3 separate regions of the Homo sapiens genome follow, and all the other regions are linked to region 1. Evidence: promoter capture Hi-C in 16 types of primary human blood cells and fetal thymus (Javierre and others, 2016). All regions are on one chromosome and are shown on one strand. The core of a region is centred on a gene start or on the middle of the fragment in contact, and the rest is flanking DNA. Distances in the headings are between cores, read along the strand shown.

What was found. The method cuts DNA at HindIII sites, captures the fragments that hold promoters and counts their contacts. A CHiCAGO score of 5 or more calls a contact.
Region 2: a contact is called between a fragment that was not itself captured here and the fragment with the promoter of C12orf43 in region 1, in 4 of 17 cell types (M1 macrophages, M2 macrophages, erythroblasts and 1 more). The highest score is 8.6, in M1 macrophages.
Region 3: a contact is called between a fragment that was not itself captured here and the fragment with the promoter of C12orf43 in region 1, in 1 of 17 cell types (M1 macrophages). The highest score is 5.4, in M1 macrophages.

The regions. Positions count from the first base shown.
Region 1 is chr12:121,014,205-121,018,967 of GRCh38, forward strand. It overlaps C12orf43 (chromosome 12 open reading frame 43), which reads right to left and starts at 2,283. Exons shown (of 6, transcript NM_022895.3): 1 at 2,126-2,283. The coding sequence starts at 2,270. It also overlaps a transcript of OASL not described here. RefSeq lists enhancers at 1,462-1,977, 1,949-2,458 and a silencer at 2,186-2,379. The HindIII fragment of the contact is 10,275 bases long and covers 1-3,678 here.
Region 2 is chr12:120,758,714-120,763,476 of GRCh38, forward strand. SPPL3 (signal peptide peptidase like 3) reads right to left here. Exons shown (of 11, transcript NM_139015.5): 11 at 3,797-4,763. Among named protein-coding and RNA genes, the nearest start is that of ACADS, 35 kb to the left of the region's middle. RefSeq lists a silencer at 4,385-4,548. The HindIII fragment of the contact is 270 bases long and covers 2,437-2,706 here.
Region 3 is chr12:120,797,771-120,802,533 of GRCh38, forward strand. The region is part of intron 2 of SPPL3 (signal peptide peptidase like 3); the gene reads right to left. Among named protein-coding and RNA genes, the nearest start is that of ACADS, 74 kb to the left of the region's middle. The HindIII fragment of the contact is 1,037 bases long and covers 2,044-3,080 here.

The DNA of each region.
Region 1 (4,763 bases), core at 1,033-3,532:
ACCTGTAATCCCAGCTACTTAGGAGGCTGAGGCAGGAGAATTGCTTGAGCTTGGGAGGCGGAGGTTGCAGGGAGCCAAGATCGCGCCATTGCACTCCAGCCTTGGTAACAGAGCGAGACTGCGTCTCAAAAAGAAAAAAAGAGACCAGGCGCGGTGGCTCACACCTGTAATCCCAGCACTTTGGAAGGCCGAGGCAGGTGGATTGCCTGAGGTCTGGAGTTTGAGACCAGCCTGGCCAACACGGTGAAACCCTGTCTGTACTAAAAATACAAAAAATTAGCTGGGCGTGGTGGCAGGCGCCTGTAATCCCAGCTACTAGGGAGGCTGAGGCAGGAGAATCACTTGAACCCAGGAGGCAGAGGTTGCAGTGAGCTGAGATCGTGCCATTGCACTGCAGCCTGGGCAACAAGAGTGAAACTCCATCTCAAAAAAAAAAAATGCAAAAAAAAAAAAAAAACCCCAAAAAACAAACAAACAAACAAAAAAAACTAGAAGCCGAGCACAGTGGCTCACACCTGTAATCTCAGCACTTTGAAGGTTGAGAAGGGAGGATCACTTGAGCCCAGGAGTTCGAGACCAGCCTGGGCAACATGGCAAAACCCCATCTCTACAAAAAATACAAAAAGTAGCTGGGACTATACATCTGTAGTCTCAGCTACTTGGGAGGCTGAGGTGGGAGGATCATCTGAGTAGGGGGAGGTCGAGGTTGCAGTGAGCCATGATTGTGTCAGCCTCGGTAACAGACTGAGTCCTAGTTTTGAAAAAAAAAAGAGCGAGAATTAGGCAGGAGGAGGAAAGCAGTCCATGTGGAAAGACCAACCACATATTTGCCACCATGTATTGGGCCTTTAAGATGTGCCAAGCACTGTAGATTGCATTATCTCAGTTACTTCTCAACCTTATGGGGTGGGTACTATCACTACCCGCACTGTACAGATGAGGAAATTTAGGTACAGTGAGATTTAAGTACTTTGCTCAAGTTCCCACCGCTAATGAGATGGAAAGGCAGATCTGTAAATAGAACTTGCAGAGAAAACTGTGGTTATGGTACTAGGGGGTGAGAGGGGCAGACTATGGTCTGGAAGCTACCTACAGGAAGTGCAGTATGGCAGGAGGGAAGGAAGGGAGAGGAAGGCAATGGATCACCAAAGGGCTTGTAAGTCCTTTTAAACAAATCCAGCGGTTCTTAACCTTGCTTTGCCATAGCCTTCTCTAACAGCCTGGTGAAGCCCGGTTCTCTTCTCAGAGCAATGTTTTAAATGCATGAAATGCAACATACAGGATTACAAAGAAAACCAATGATACCGAAATTTAATTATCATGATAGTAAACAACCAAACTTGTGATGTATGTGCTTCTTACATCTTAGATATAGAGATGGGTCTAAAAATTAGAGTGGCACATTTTAAATCAGGGATGAGTGTAAATGACTTTTTTCCCCAATATCTTTTTATCAATAAAATGATATATTGATATCTGTATCTGCAAAGATTGTAATGAGATATGAAAATCTGTGACTTCTGTTGGGATAAAGTAACGGCATTGCCAGAACTACTGTGGCTTAGTGCTTGCAAGACGGAAAGAGATGCTAAAATTCAGTCAGAGATGAATAGAAAGCAAAGATGCAACATGTTTTCATTCCAAATTCAAGAACCCTTGGGTTCTATCCATGATTAGGCCCCTTGATGTTGCGGGGCTCTGTATTTATTCCCAGGGCACTAGGGAGTCACGGTCAGAGTGATGTGCTGGGCACTGCTCTTGGCAACAACCTCCAGGGTGGGAGAATGTGTTGGAGGTGGGGAAAGGCTGGGTGCGAGAATACCGGGAGGGGGCTGTTGCAGTTATCTCGAAGAGACGGCAGCCTTCCCAGTGTGGGGCAGTGAGGATAGACCCAAGGAGGCAGAATCAAAAGACATTTGGGTACCTCAGCTTCCCCGACTGGAATAATGAAATACCCTCCCTACTGCACCTGCCCATGCTTTCAATCTGCACTACACCCAGTCCCTGGAGGTCTCTCGGGGAAGGAAGCCGAGTCCCAGTGACTCTCTCCTCACCATCCATCCTCTCAGGCTCCAGGGGAAGATCCCACGCCCCTCAGCCAGTCTCCCCAAACATAGTACCCTACCGGCTCTTGGCTTCCCTGCCACGTGCGGGCGTTGCTCCAAGCCCCAAGCCGGCATTGCCGCCTCGCGGCACCGCTCCAGCTCCTCCGCATCGCTACTGCTGTTACTACTTTCCGAATCGCTCACTGTGCCACTGGGCGCCGCCATCTTGAACCACCGCAAAGGATTGTGGAGAACACCGCCGTTATCAAGCCTCCTTCATGACGTCACGTGAGAGGAGAGGCGCGAGGCATTGTGGGGATTGTAGTTCCAAGACTTGGACCGCCATTGGCCATGAACTGTACTGGGTTGGGGATACCAGGTGGGAATGGGGAGGTGGGCGGTTCTCAAAGGCAAGAGCTAGAAGGGCCTAAGAGATTAACTTCTCCAATCATTTCTTGATGACAGATCTCCAGAGGGGATGGGAATCTCCTAAGGAGTTAATGACAGACCCAGGATTAGTTCCCAGGTTTTGATTCCATGTCATTTATTCTAGTAATTTCCCAGTCCAGCTGGGCCTAAGAAACACCTTAGAGAGCTGGTTAAACTGCAGACTTTTGGGTCTCACAGAAAATACTAACAGAATCAGAATCTCTGATAGGTGGAATCCAGGAATCTGTATTTCCTTTAATAGCCTAGGGCCTTACTACTTAAGAGTGTAGTCCATGAGCCAGCAGCATTGGTAACACCTGGGAGCTCGTTAGAAATGCAGAATCCAGGCTGGGCACGGTGGCTCACGCCTGTAATCCCAACACTTTGGGGGGCTGAGGCAGGCAGATCACAAGGTCAGGAGTTCGAGACCAGCCTGGCCAACATAGTGAAACCCCATCTCTACTAAAAATACAAAAATTAGCTGGGCATGGTGGCACGCACCTGTAGTCCCAGCTACTCAGGAGGCTGAGGCAGGAAAATCACTTGAACCTGGGAGGTGGAGGTTGAGGTGAGCCAAGATCGTGCCACTGCACTCCAGCCTGGGCAACAGACTGAGACTCTGTCTCGAAAAAAAAAAAAGAGAAATGCAGAATCCTGTCCGGGCACGGTGGCTCACATCTGTAATCCCAACACTTTGTGAGGCCGAGGCGGGCAGATCATGAGGTCAGGAGTTCGAGACTAGCCTGACCAACATGGTGAAACCCCATCTCTACTAAAAATACAAAAATTAGCCAGGCAATACTGACTCCCAGGACCCATCCAAGACCAAAAAATTAGAATCTCTGTGGTTAAAATACCTCACAGTGAAGGATGAACAAAATCACTTTACTTTTGTGTGTGGAATGCTGTTTCATGTTTTATCTTTGAAGACAGGTATGTCAAAACTTTACTAAAATAAACTCTCTGGCCTTGAGCTTTTTCTATTTCAAAGAAGAGGAAGGTGACTGATATGGTCTGAATGTGTTCCTCCAAAATTCATATGTTAAAATTGACACCATAAAATAAATAACAGAGAGACTGACTCTCCAAAATAAAGCGTTTATTCCAGAATTGCAAGGAATTGCAATTTGAGATATGCATGCTATAGTGGACTATAGGCACATTAAAAGAGGTTGTGGCAACGAGAAAAGACAAAGTCCACATAAGCTTCTTTAAAACAAGTACCGTTGATCACAGGAGCCTGTTGCAGGAGTTGGCTTTAGCTTATTGTGGAGACACCCACTGTTAGGCAAATATTCTTATGCAAGTGGTTTATCTATAATACTGCGGATTTTAGGAACTTCTTGAGATAATTTTTGTGACAGGCATTTGTTAGGGTTTGACATAAGTGACTCCATTTTGATACTGATAATTTCCAAAAAGTCCTTACTCCCAAGGTGATGGTATTAGGAGGTGGGACCTCTGGGAAGTAATTAGTGAAAGGGTCTTGTGTTGGTTCGAACCCCAAGAGCGTGGCCAACAGACAACATGAGGCAGTGTGTGTGCAGGTGGGCTGAGGCTTAAAATGGCGTCAGCACCAAATGAGGACGGGGCAGGGGTTTTGTAGTCTCCTGTAAACAGGAAGTTTCTCAGTCTGTTGTAACCGCTACATTGTACCCGGATGACGTCTCTCTCGGTCTTCAGGGGGTAGGTGTCTTCTGGCCCGCTCTCTTCCCGCTTCTGCTATCTTGCTGACACATGCTGCTGGCGCGAGTGGCCTTGCGCCTTGGGACCGGGCCCAAGGAGGGAGGGGAGGGAGGGGTCATTCATTCTCTTAAGCTTTCAGGCCCCACGGAGAATCTTTCAATTACATAATGGGTCCTGAGCCCTCATGAACTGGATCAATGCCTTCATAAAAGAGACCCCAGAGGCCAGGCATGGTGGCTCACAACTGTAATCCCAGCACTGTGGGAGGCCAAGACAGGTGGATCACAAGGTCAGGAGTTCGAGACTAGCCTGGCCAAGATGGTGAAACCCCGTCTCTACTAAAAATAAAAAAAAAATTAGCTGGGCACAGTGGTAGGTGCCTGTAGTCCCAGCTACTCGGGAGGCTGAGGCAGGAGAATCGCTTGAACCTCGGAGGCAGAGGTTGCAGGGAGCTGAGATCATGCCAATGCACTCTAGCCTGGGTGACAGAGCGAGACTCCATCTCAAAAAAAAAAAAAAAAAAAAAAAGAAGCGATCCTAGAGACACCTTTGCCTCTTCTACCATGTGAAGACTTAGTGAGAAGCTGCCATCTGTGAATCAGG
Region 2 (4,763 bases), core at 1,322-3,821, 260 kb before region 1:
CCTGGCCCATGAGTCTTTTGTTCCAAGGGTGTTCAAGAAAAACCTAGATGTATCAACTAATACAGGCCCACAAAAGACTGACAGAATGGGAGCTTCACAGTGTAGTAAACTTTTCCCTCAAAACAAGCAGTAAGACTTTAAAGTACACTGAAGTTAAAGAGGGCACATGCAGTGTTTATTATGGAAAAAAAAAGTACAGAAAAATAAAAACGTCAACACTGGTTTGTGTGCAGAATCTGGGTAGAGGTTGATCTTCTTGGCCTTAAGAAGCCAAAATGAGGAACTGCATGGGCAGGGTCACCCACCATCCCCCTCTGCATATGGAGCTTTGTGCTAAGGCTTTCAGTGTGTAGAAGAAAATTTCAAGACCCTGGATGGGGGAAATCACCCCTCAGCAGAGGGGAGAGAACCAGTATTCCTAATGATGAACCGGGAGCTGTGGTGGTTTGAATAATGACAGCGTACAGATCTAATGATTTTAACTGTATTCCAACTCTCTGAGCATTGTGTGTGAAATATATGAGAACACAGTAAACCAGAAGAGCGCCTCATATTTACTCAATACTTTCTATGAGGCACCTTCATCCCCATTTCAGATGAAGCAGCTCGGACTCAGGGGGCTCCATCCCTAACCAGAGCCCCATGGTGGCTGTGTGGGGGATGCGCATGACAAATGCCTTCACACTCAGAGCACCACAGAGCAGTCTTCCTCCTGCCTCTCACTGTCCAGGTCATCTCGCATACTCTGCAAGGCTTTACATCACTGAAGACTTTTTTTTTTTTTGGCTTTAGCTGCTCTATTGGCTAGAACAACTCTTCTTCCCCAATTTCTTCTGTTATCTATTTTGGCAATTCATTGTTCAGGTTAAGAAGTGTGGAGTCACTGTGGAGTCCCCAACCCTGCATCCAATCTGGTAGCAAGTTCTGTTCTTCGCATCACCCTAGTCCAGGCCATGGCCTCTCTCACAGCGACTGCCCCGGGCAGAACGCCTACACTCAACAGGGGAGGGCTGCGGGAAGTGCCAGGAGGCACAAGCGAAGGAGGAAAGGTGGGGCCGGGGCTCCTGGCCAGATGGTGGTCTTGGGGAGGGTGGCACTGCATTCTACCCGCCGTCAAGCCGGCAAGGCCACGACTCATCCGTGCGATGCTTCGTCATCTTAGTTCCTCCCTGCACTAGCAAGCGCTCAGCCTCTTTCTCTGAAATTGGTTTCCGCCTTCCCCAGGGAGCTGTCACAGGATATGTTACTATCTGCCTGGGGATAAAAACCCCATCAAGGCACGACAGCAACCGCAGGTGTGAGGAAATTCAATCTCTAATGGCAAAGGCTCAAACACAAAAGCTAGAAGCTCACGTGGTGGCTACACTCCAGCAGCTCCAGGTGGGCAGAGTGAAAGGTGGCAGTAGCAGGCTGACAGGTGGTCCGCCTGGAGAGAGGCTCTCTGGTGAGACAGAGCAACTGGTGTCGGGATCCCGGGGCTGGATCGCTTGTCTTCAGACATTTGGTTGAATGCAGTGACCATCGTGCTGTCCCCCTCCGTCTCTGTCCTGTGGACACCCACTTCCTGTCTCCCATTCCTCACAAGCGCAGGCCTGCTGCCCACTGCCTGGCGGCTTCCCCACTCCCAGTCTCTCAAGTCTTGCTTCCTCTGCCTAACTGGTTCCCATTCCTGTCATCTTTGGATCTGGTGAGAATCCCAGGACTCCATGGGGGCTGGAGACAGCTCGTGGGCTTAGCTATTTTGGAACCTTCAGAGCCTCTGTTCGCCTGCAGACAGGTGGCGTGTTTTACAGGTTCTACTCAACAGGAAGAAGATGTCTTGGAACTTAAGAGAAAAACTGGTTAGGCAGACTCCAAATGAAAGGAACCAGAAGCGAAGCGGAGTCTGCCGCATGAATTCTTAAGACCTCAGGTTATCTAGGAAATCTACCGCACGCTAAAGTGCTCCTCCGTAAGTGCTGCAGTTAGAATCTTCACAGCCTCCCTGCAGGATGTTTGTATCAAGCACCTGCTAACCACTGGCTCCGTGCGGTAAGACTTCTGAAACCTGTAGTGACGAAAGATCATTGCGCTTGGGGCTGTAGGCTTTCGCTTGTCTTCAGACATTTGGTTGAATGCAGGCCTGTGTCCACCAGGAGCACTGGGCTTCTCCTACACCAACTTGCTTCTCAGCCTTCTCTTCATTGGCACATCCCGTCCAGTGATACAGGATCCCCAGCCCAAGCCTCTGCTATTTACAGCAAGGCCCAGAGTTACGGAGAGAAGGCTGTGGATTCTACTCTTGAACGCACTGTGGCATCCCTGCGTGACCTTGTGTGGGAATGGCTGCCACACCCCCTCCCCACAAGCCAAGCATGCTAAAGCAAGCCCTGCACAGACCGCAGGAGTAGGGGGTCAGGATGTCTGGTTTTGTTCACTGGGGGGCCCAGTGCCTCAAGCTTCACTGAAACATGACTGATTGCCTCTAACGGACAGGAAAGGGCTCTGGATTTCAAGGGAAAGGCTGAGGAGGAAACAGATGATGGCTGGAGCGGGAAGAATTTTGTGATGGGAGAGTCTCTGCGCATGAGACAGTTGGAATCTGAACCTGCAGAAATTTGAGTTTAGAGTTTTGCAGATAGAAAGCACCCTATACATTGCAGGGAATAGGAATAATTTCTGGATTAAAAAGTCTTACCTGGTTTATCCCTTCCAATAAGAGGAAGAAGCTTGAGTTGGATGACTCGATCTGCAGTGCTTCAGCTGACACGTGTTAGCAGCCATTGTCCTAGAAATGATTTCACTGTTGGAAACTGCTGAAGAAATGTGATTCGGTGAAGTGGGGGAGGCTGTCCTGGCCACTGTGCACTGAAGACCAGAAAGAGACCGAGATGGCTTCCTTCTGAGCCTGTACCGCTGACATAGCTCTGTAGAGAAGGGGGTTGTATAAATGATGTCCCTAAGGCATGTACTCCCATGTATAGACACGAGTGCTGCATTCCCAGGCTCTGACGTAAACGCTAGGCTTTACAAAACAGAAACGTACACACAACATGGGATCTGGTGAGCAGTAACGTGAGAGCTGCTAAGCAGACACAGCAGGTTCTATTTTTAACACTTGATTGGCAAAATGGAACTCCCTTCCCCTCCACCCTCACAGAGAACGAGTACTTTTGTTTTTCTTGTGGGTGACCTAACTTACCTGTTTACCCAAGGCCTGTGAGCCTGCTACAAAAGTAATTCAGACAGTAGCTTAGTCCCAAGCCACCGAACCGTTCCTATGCGGGGAGCTGTCACTGTCACATTCAGAAAGCGTATGCACTGTAATAACAGCAATGGAACACACTAGGCTTTGGACAGACTTTACTGTCATATCTTCATTAGCTCAAACTAGAAAAAAGAGTTATTAAAAAGCGGGAGTTCTAGTAACACACAGTCTCTTTGTGAGGAAAAAGGACTTCAGATCAGTGAGGAAGGAATCTGCTGAAATTTCATGAGCATGCCATGCCTAATGCAGCAGACTTCCTAGAAAACCCCTAAACCATGGTATTTGAGAAAACAGAATAAGAGGCGGACCTAAGTGTATCAGGCAGCGGGGAGCAAACGAGCACTGGAAGGGAAGTCTAATGTGTGCTTTAACTGCAGCCACCCACTCAACCCTCCGAGACGAGTAGAGTATTTGCTGTTTCTCTGCCAAAGTTTTAAGGGAGTGTTTTAAGGGCTTTGAAGATTAGCAACTGGAATCCAGGGTGCATTCACAGCCCTGTGTGGGTATTTCCCCCCAAAACCTGCACAGAAGTGAGAATGACAAAATAACGACGTTCCTTCTGTCTGGAATTTAATTTTCTTATGAAAACAAAGACAGAAAAATTAAAATGACCCACTGCCAGGATAACATTTCCTTTTTTTTTTTTTTTTTGAGATGGAGTCTCACCCTGTCGCCCAGACTTGAGTGCAGTGGCGCAATCTCTGCTCACTGCAACCTCCGCCTTCCAGGTTCAAGCGATTCTTCTGCCTCAGCCTCCCAAATAGCTGGGATTACAGGCGCCTGCCACCATGCCCAGCTAATTTTTGTGTTTTTAGTAGAGACGGGGTTTCACCATGTTGGCCAGGCTGGTCTCGAGCTCCCAACCTTGTGATCCACCTGCCTCGGCCTCCCAAAGTGCTGGGATTACAGGCATGAAGGATAACGTTATTTCTACCCATCACTGGCACTTGCCCTTAATCCGAGTCATTTTGGAGCCCCCCTCTCTGTCTCTGGGCCTGCTTAATTAGCTATATGCATCCTCGAGGGCTGAGAAGGAAGGAAGGGAGAGTCCGCAAGTGGATTTTTAGTCTTCACCCAATGCAGAGGCAGTTTTGAGTTCTGTGGACAGCAGAAGCTTCAGTTCTTTGATGTATCTATGACTGGGCCAGAGCTGCAGATGACCAGGTCTGGGGACAGACAGAGTCTTCCCATCAGTCTTCCAGAACAGGGAGGAGATGGCTGGGAGCTCTGTTTGGTACCAACAACCAAAGTGAAGATTATGTGACAAAGGCTACAAAGGAGTCATTTATTAAAAACAAAACCCCAGAAACCCCTCAGCAGGAATTGATGACAACAACAGAGGAATCCAACACCCTGACTGCTTCAGACTCTGTTGACAACAGGATGGGTGCCCCCTGTGAGCTCGATCCACAGTGACTTCAAGCCACAGTGACACAGCACACTAATTCATTACACAGGTCAAGACAGAGGCAGCCACTGGGGCGGGGACCCTTGGGGAGAGGCTGGAACTCAGGGC
Region 3 (4,763 bases), core at 1,312-3,811, 220 kb before region 1:
ACTTAACCAAATGACTGGGCTCAGGTCACACTGATAATGATCTTAACTTCGTAGTTTCCCACCTCTATGACTCAAAATTTCTTACTGGATTTGAAAGACTTGCCCCTCTACTAACAGCCTGACTCTAGCTGCCACTCTTGTTTCCTGTACTTTCATTCACTAAAACTCCCTTCTCTGTTACTGGTACCAAGGAAGCCTCAATTAGAATGGGGGGTCTGGGGAGGATAATCTATGAAGTAGAGACTGGTTAGTTACATGTCACCCTGTTCTCATATAAATCTGGCCAACGAACTGTTTAGCAAACTGTTCCACTGGAGGGCAGCCCCAGTGGGTGACAGCTCCCCAGCAGGACCAAAACACAGCGACTTTTAGATGTGGTGGACTCCCTGAAACATGGTTAAGACTCCTCTTCTGAAATATGGTCAGGTGTCTGATGTGTTGGCTTTCCTGGGGGTTTTTTTATTTTAAAAAAGCCTTGGATTTTAGAAGATTCATATACAGTATTTGAGACATATTTCTCCAGCCATCAGAGGAAGACACATTAGCAGAGATTAAAACGTACACTTACTGCTCATACCTCAGTCACACTTAGAGGAATAGCTATGGCAACTGGCTCCTGAAAAACTTTTTCCTAATTAGTTCCACAACAAACTAGATGTAGTATTTTGCATATATTTCCCCTGCCAACGCACCTGTGGTAGTTTCTAGTACATGGTTTCACTTCTATGATCTTTTAAGCTTTAATTCATGTTTTCGCACAGCAGAGCTAACAATGTGCAGGACCTAAACTCTAGGGTTGGTGATGCATTTAATGGGAACGTCTCTGGAGTCAATGGAACATGAAGACTGCTCCTTCCCTGTGGGCATGTTTTGGAAACACATATATTAATTTAAATTGAGTTTTTCAAATTCACTTATGAATGGAATAACAATAACTACACTTGTTATATTCTGCTTCTCAGAATCTGGTGACAGCAGGTTAAATGTGCAGGAATTTTTATCTACATCTCTACCCTTGGGGCTACACAGATTGCCAGCTTCTCTTACTTTTTCTGTTGGCATTATATCGCTATTCTGGATTGGAAGGTTGCCAGTCATCTCTTTGGTTTAACCCTAGGCACAGCTGCTACGGAGCCTCTCCCATGAGACTGGGTTAGTGAGAATAGGTGCTGAGAACCCCCCGCGGGACAGGATGAAGGGTTATATAACTCAATTTCAATTTGTTATTAGTTGAGAACTATTTATAACTCCATCCTGGATGTTTTAAGGCAAGATTTTCCCCTTTTTTCAAATACAGCTGCTCCTTGACTTACAATGGAGTTATATCCCAATAAGCCCAGGTAAGTGGAAAAATCTCAAGTTCAAAATGCGTTTAATATTCATACATCTAACCTACTGAACATCATAGTTTAGCCCAGCCTACCTTAAACGTGCTCAGAACACGTACATTAGCCTACAGTTGGGCAAAATCATCTAACACAAAGGCCTGTTTTGTAATAAAGTGCTGAATATTTCAAGTAACTTACTGAATACTGTACTGAGAGTGAAAAACAGAATGGTTGTATGGGTACTTGAAGTATGCTTTCTACTGAAATCATACTGCCTTTGTACCATCATGAAGTGGAAAAATCTTAAGTTGAACCATCATTAAGTCAAACCGTTGGTAAGCTAGGGATCTTCTGTAGCAGAAAGTAGTGGTCAACTTCAAACCAGTTTTAGCTGGTCCATTTTCTTAGCATCTAACTGACAAGAACTGCAGCAGGGACAGGAAAGCCTTAGGCAGGAATGAGGTACTATCAGATGGTGGGGGAGGGTGGAGGACTGGTAAGGAGAGCAAGCATTCTTCTAGTTCTCTGTGTAATTAGAAGACTTTGAACTTCTCACTGCCTCAAACAAGCTTAGCTAAAATCAAGCCTTGTTTGGTTGTTAGAAGCAGACCATGGGTCACCGCTGCACAAAACAGAAATGGGGCACAGTGAGTTAGTAGGGCCTTACCTATTAGCTCAAGCTGGGAAGATTCATATCTTCCAGCTTTATACAACAAGCTTAAAGGGCCTGGGCTTAGCAGATCCCATGCCACTATGACTGGGGTCCGGTAAAGTTACTCACACTGCACAGCTGACAGCAAACTTAAGCTGTTTAAATAAAGCCTTTGCAAAAGACTCTGCCTCCAAAGCTATCCAGGACTATTTTCAATTATAGGCCTTTAACTTAGCTTATTTGGTAATTTATTAAGTGCATAGACATCAGATTGCTAGGTTGGACCTAGAACAGTTCGCTGCATCTTCACAGAAGACTACTCTTCATTCTCTTCCATCTTGACCTGCCTTCACAATCTTGTTATTGCTATACAGTAACATAATATGATGTTAATATAACGTTATAAATATACATTCCATCCAAATTGTATCCTGGCTATTTGCAAGTCTAGGTACTGAAATCAATGTTTAGGTCAGGTGCGGTGGTTCATGCTTGTAATCCTAGCACTTCAGGAGGCTGAGGCTGGTGGATCACCTGAGGTTAGAAGTTCGAGACCAGCCTGGACAACATGGTGAAACCCCGTCTCTACTAAAAATACAAAAGCTAGCTGGGCCTGGTGGCGCACACCTGTAATCCCAGCTACTCAGGGGGCTGAGGTAAGAAAACTGCTTGAACCCGGGAGGTGGAGGTTGCAGTGAACTGAGATCACACCACTTCACTCCACCCTGGGCAAAAGAATGAAACTCAGTCTCAAAACAAAAAAACAAAAAACAAAACAAGAAAAAGAAATCAATGTTTAAATGATCAACAGAAGGACTTGAGCTATGGCTTTTTCATCACAGACAACCATTTACCATCACAGAAAAAAAATCCATCTAAATTATAGCATATTATATGCTATTTTTTTTTGTCTTTTCATCAACTATGACTGAACAGGAAGTAGTTATGGGTCAAGGTGTAGGAGGTCAACAAATGTCCAATTATTGATACTTACATAGAACCTACACTAAGAAAGAAAGACTAAGAACCTGGGCAGGAAGAAACAGTCTCTGACTCAGCAGCTGAGAACATCCAGGGGGTTAAAATGATGATAATAGTTAAGCTTGATTGAGCTCATACTGTCAGGCACTGCTAGGTGCTTTACAGGCAAGGTTTCTTTTGATTCACAGAAAAACTCCATGAGTGGGGTGACCACAAATTCCAGCTTATGCCTGCTGCCTTGGCAAAATTATGAAGGAAACAAAAATATTTCACCCAAAAATATACTTCTCTGACATATTTCAGATGGTTTTCAGAAGGGCTGGAAATACAAGAATAGCTGAGAGAAGCTGTGTGGGGCAGATTTGCATCTGTAGAGAAAATATGCATTGATGAGGTGGAGGCATTTCTCTGAGGCCCTACCTTGTCCAGACACAGGAAAGATTAATTGAGAGTCTGACACCTTAGAAGGTCAGAAAGAAACATATTCCATCTATTCTCTCTCAGGGCTGCGACCTGTGAGGTTTCATCTACATGACAGGACCACCTGTGCTAGCTGGGCCTCCTCTTCTCTCTCTCTCATAATCTGTCTCACCACCATAACCTGATTTACCACCATAACCTGTCTTGCCACACTCCAAGCCCTCATTCTTTCTGTAACCTCAAGGTGGTATAAAAGCATCAGCCATCTGGCCATTTTTTTTTTTTGAGATCTTATATTTTGTAAGACTTTTGTGCACATTAACAAATCTGTATGCCTTTTCTATTAATCTGCTATTTGTCAGTGGATTTTTCAGCGAGGATTCAGGGGGCACAGAGGAAGTTTTCCCTTGGCCCTGTTACACCAAGTAATGGGCTCACTGCTTGACGCGCTACATCTTTCCACATTAGTATATACTGCTTTTTTCTCATAAAAACAAACAAACAAAAAAACCTACAGAGTATTTCTCCCCAAGTAAACTTGATCTGGTATCATTTTTAGATAAGCTGCACATGAGCTGTCTTACTACAGAGAAATATTAAGACCAGCAGGCTTTATAGGTGAATGATATGGTTTAGCCTTGAACTGGGTAAGGTCCAGATGGCCACTGACCCTGTCAGCTAATTAGTGTCAGTTAGAATGACAACTCATCAACATTCTTCAACTTTAAATTGGGTGTAAGTATAAATTCCAGTTTGGTGTTTTGGTCACTTTGATGTACATTTCACATGAAGTTTATTACAGACACTATATCAAGAAGTATATTAATATTCTGTGAGTGCCTTAATAAGATTTTAGTGTGGCTGAGGTAGAGATCTGGTTATATTTGCCCTAAATTTGTTTCAGGCTAGAATTAATTCAGTTGCAAGGAACAGAACTTTAGGAAATCAACTACTCATTTCTTTATGTCCTAGAGTGGATTAAAAAGGATTTTCTGAGGAAGATTCTAGGCCTGCCTTTAGGAACTTCCACTGCCTGCCTCAGGACAAGGGGAAACATGGGCTTATATTTAGGTATTAGGTTCCTTCATTCTGATAAAAATACGAATGCACCATGAGTGCTGTTAAGACAACTAGGTCTGTATTTAGCTGGCAACATAATACATTTTTGGGCTGCTGCTTTTATATATGTATGTATGTATGTATGTGTGTATATATATACATATATATGTATATATATACACATATATGTGTGTGTGTGTGTGTGTATATATATATATATATTTTTTTTTTTTTTCCTTTTTGAGATGGAGTCTCAGTTTGTGGCCCAGGCTGGAGTGCAGTGGCGCAATCTCGGCTCACTGCAACCTCTGCCTCCCAGTTCA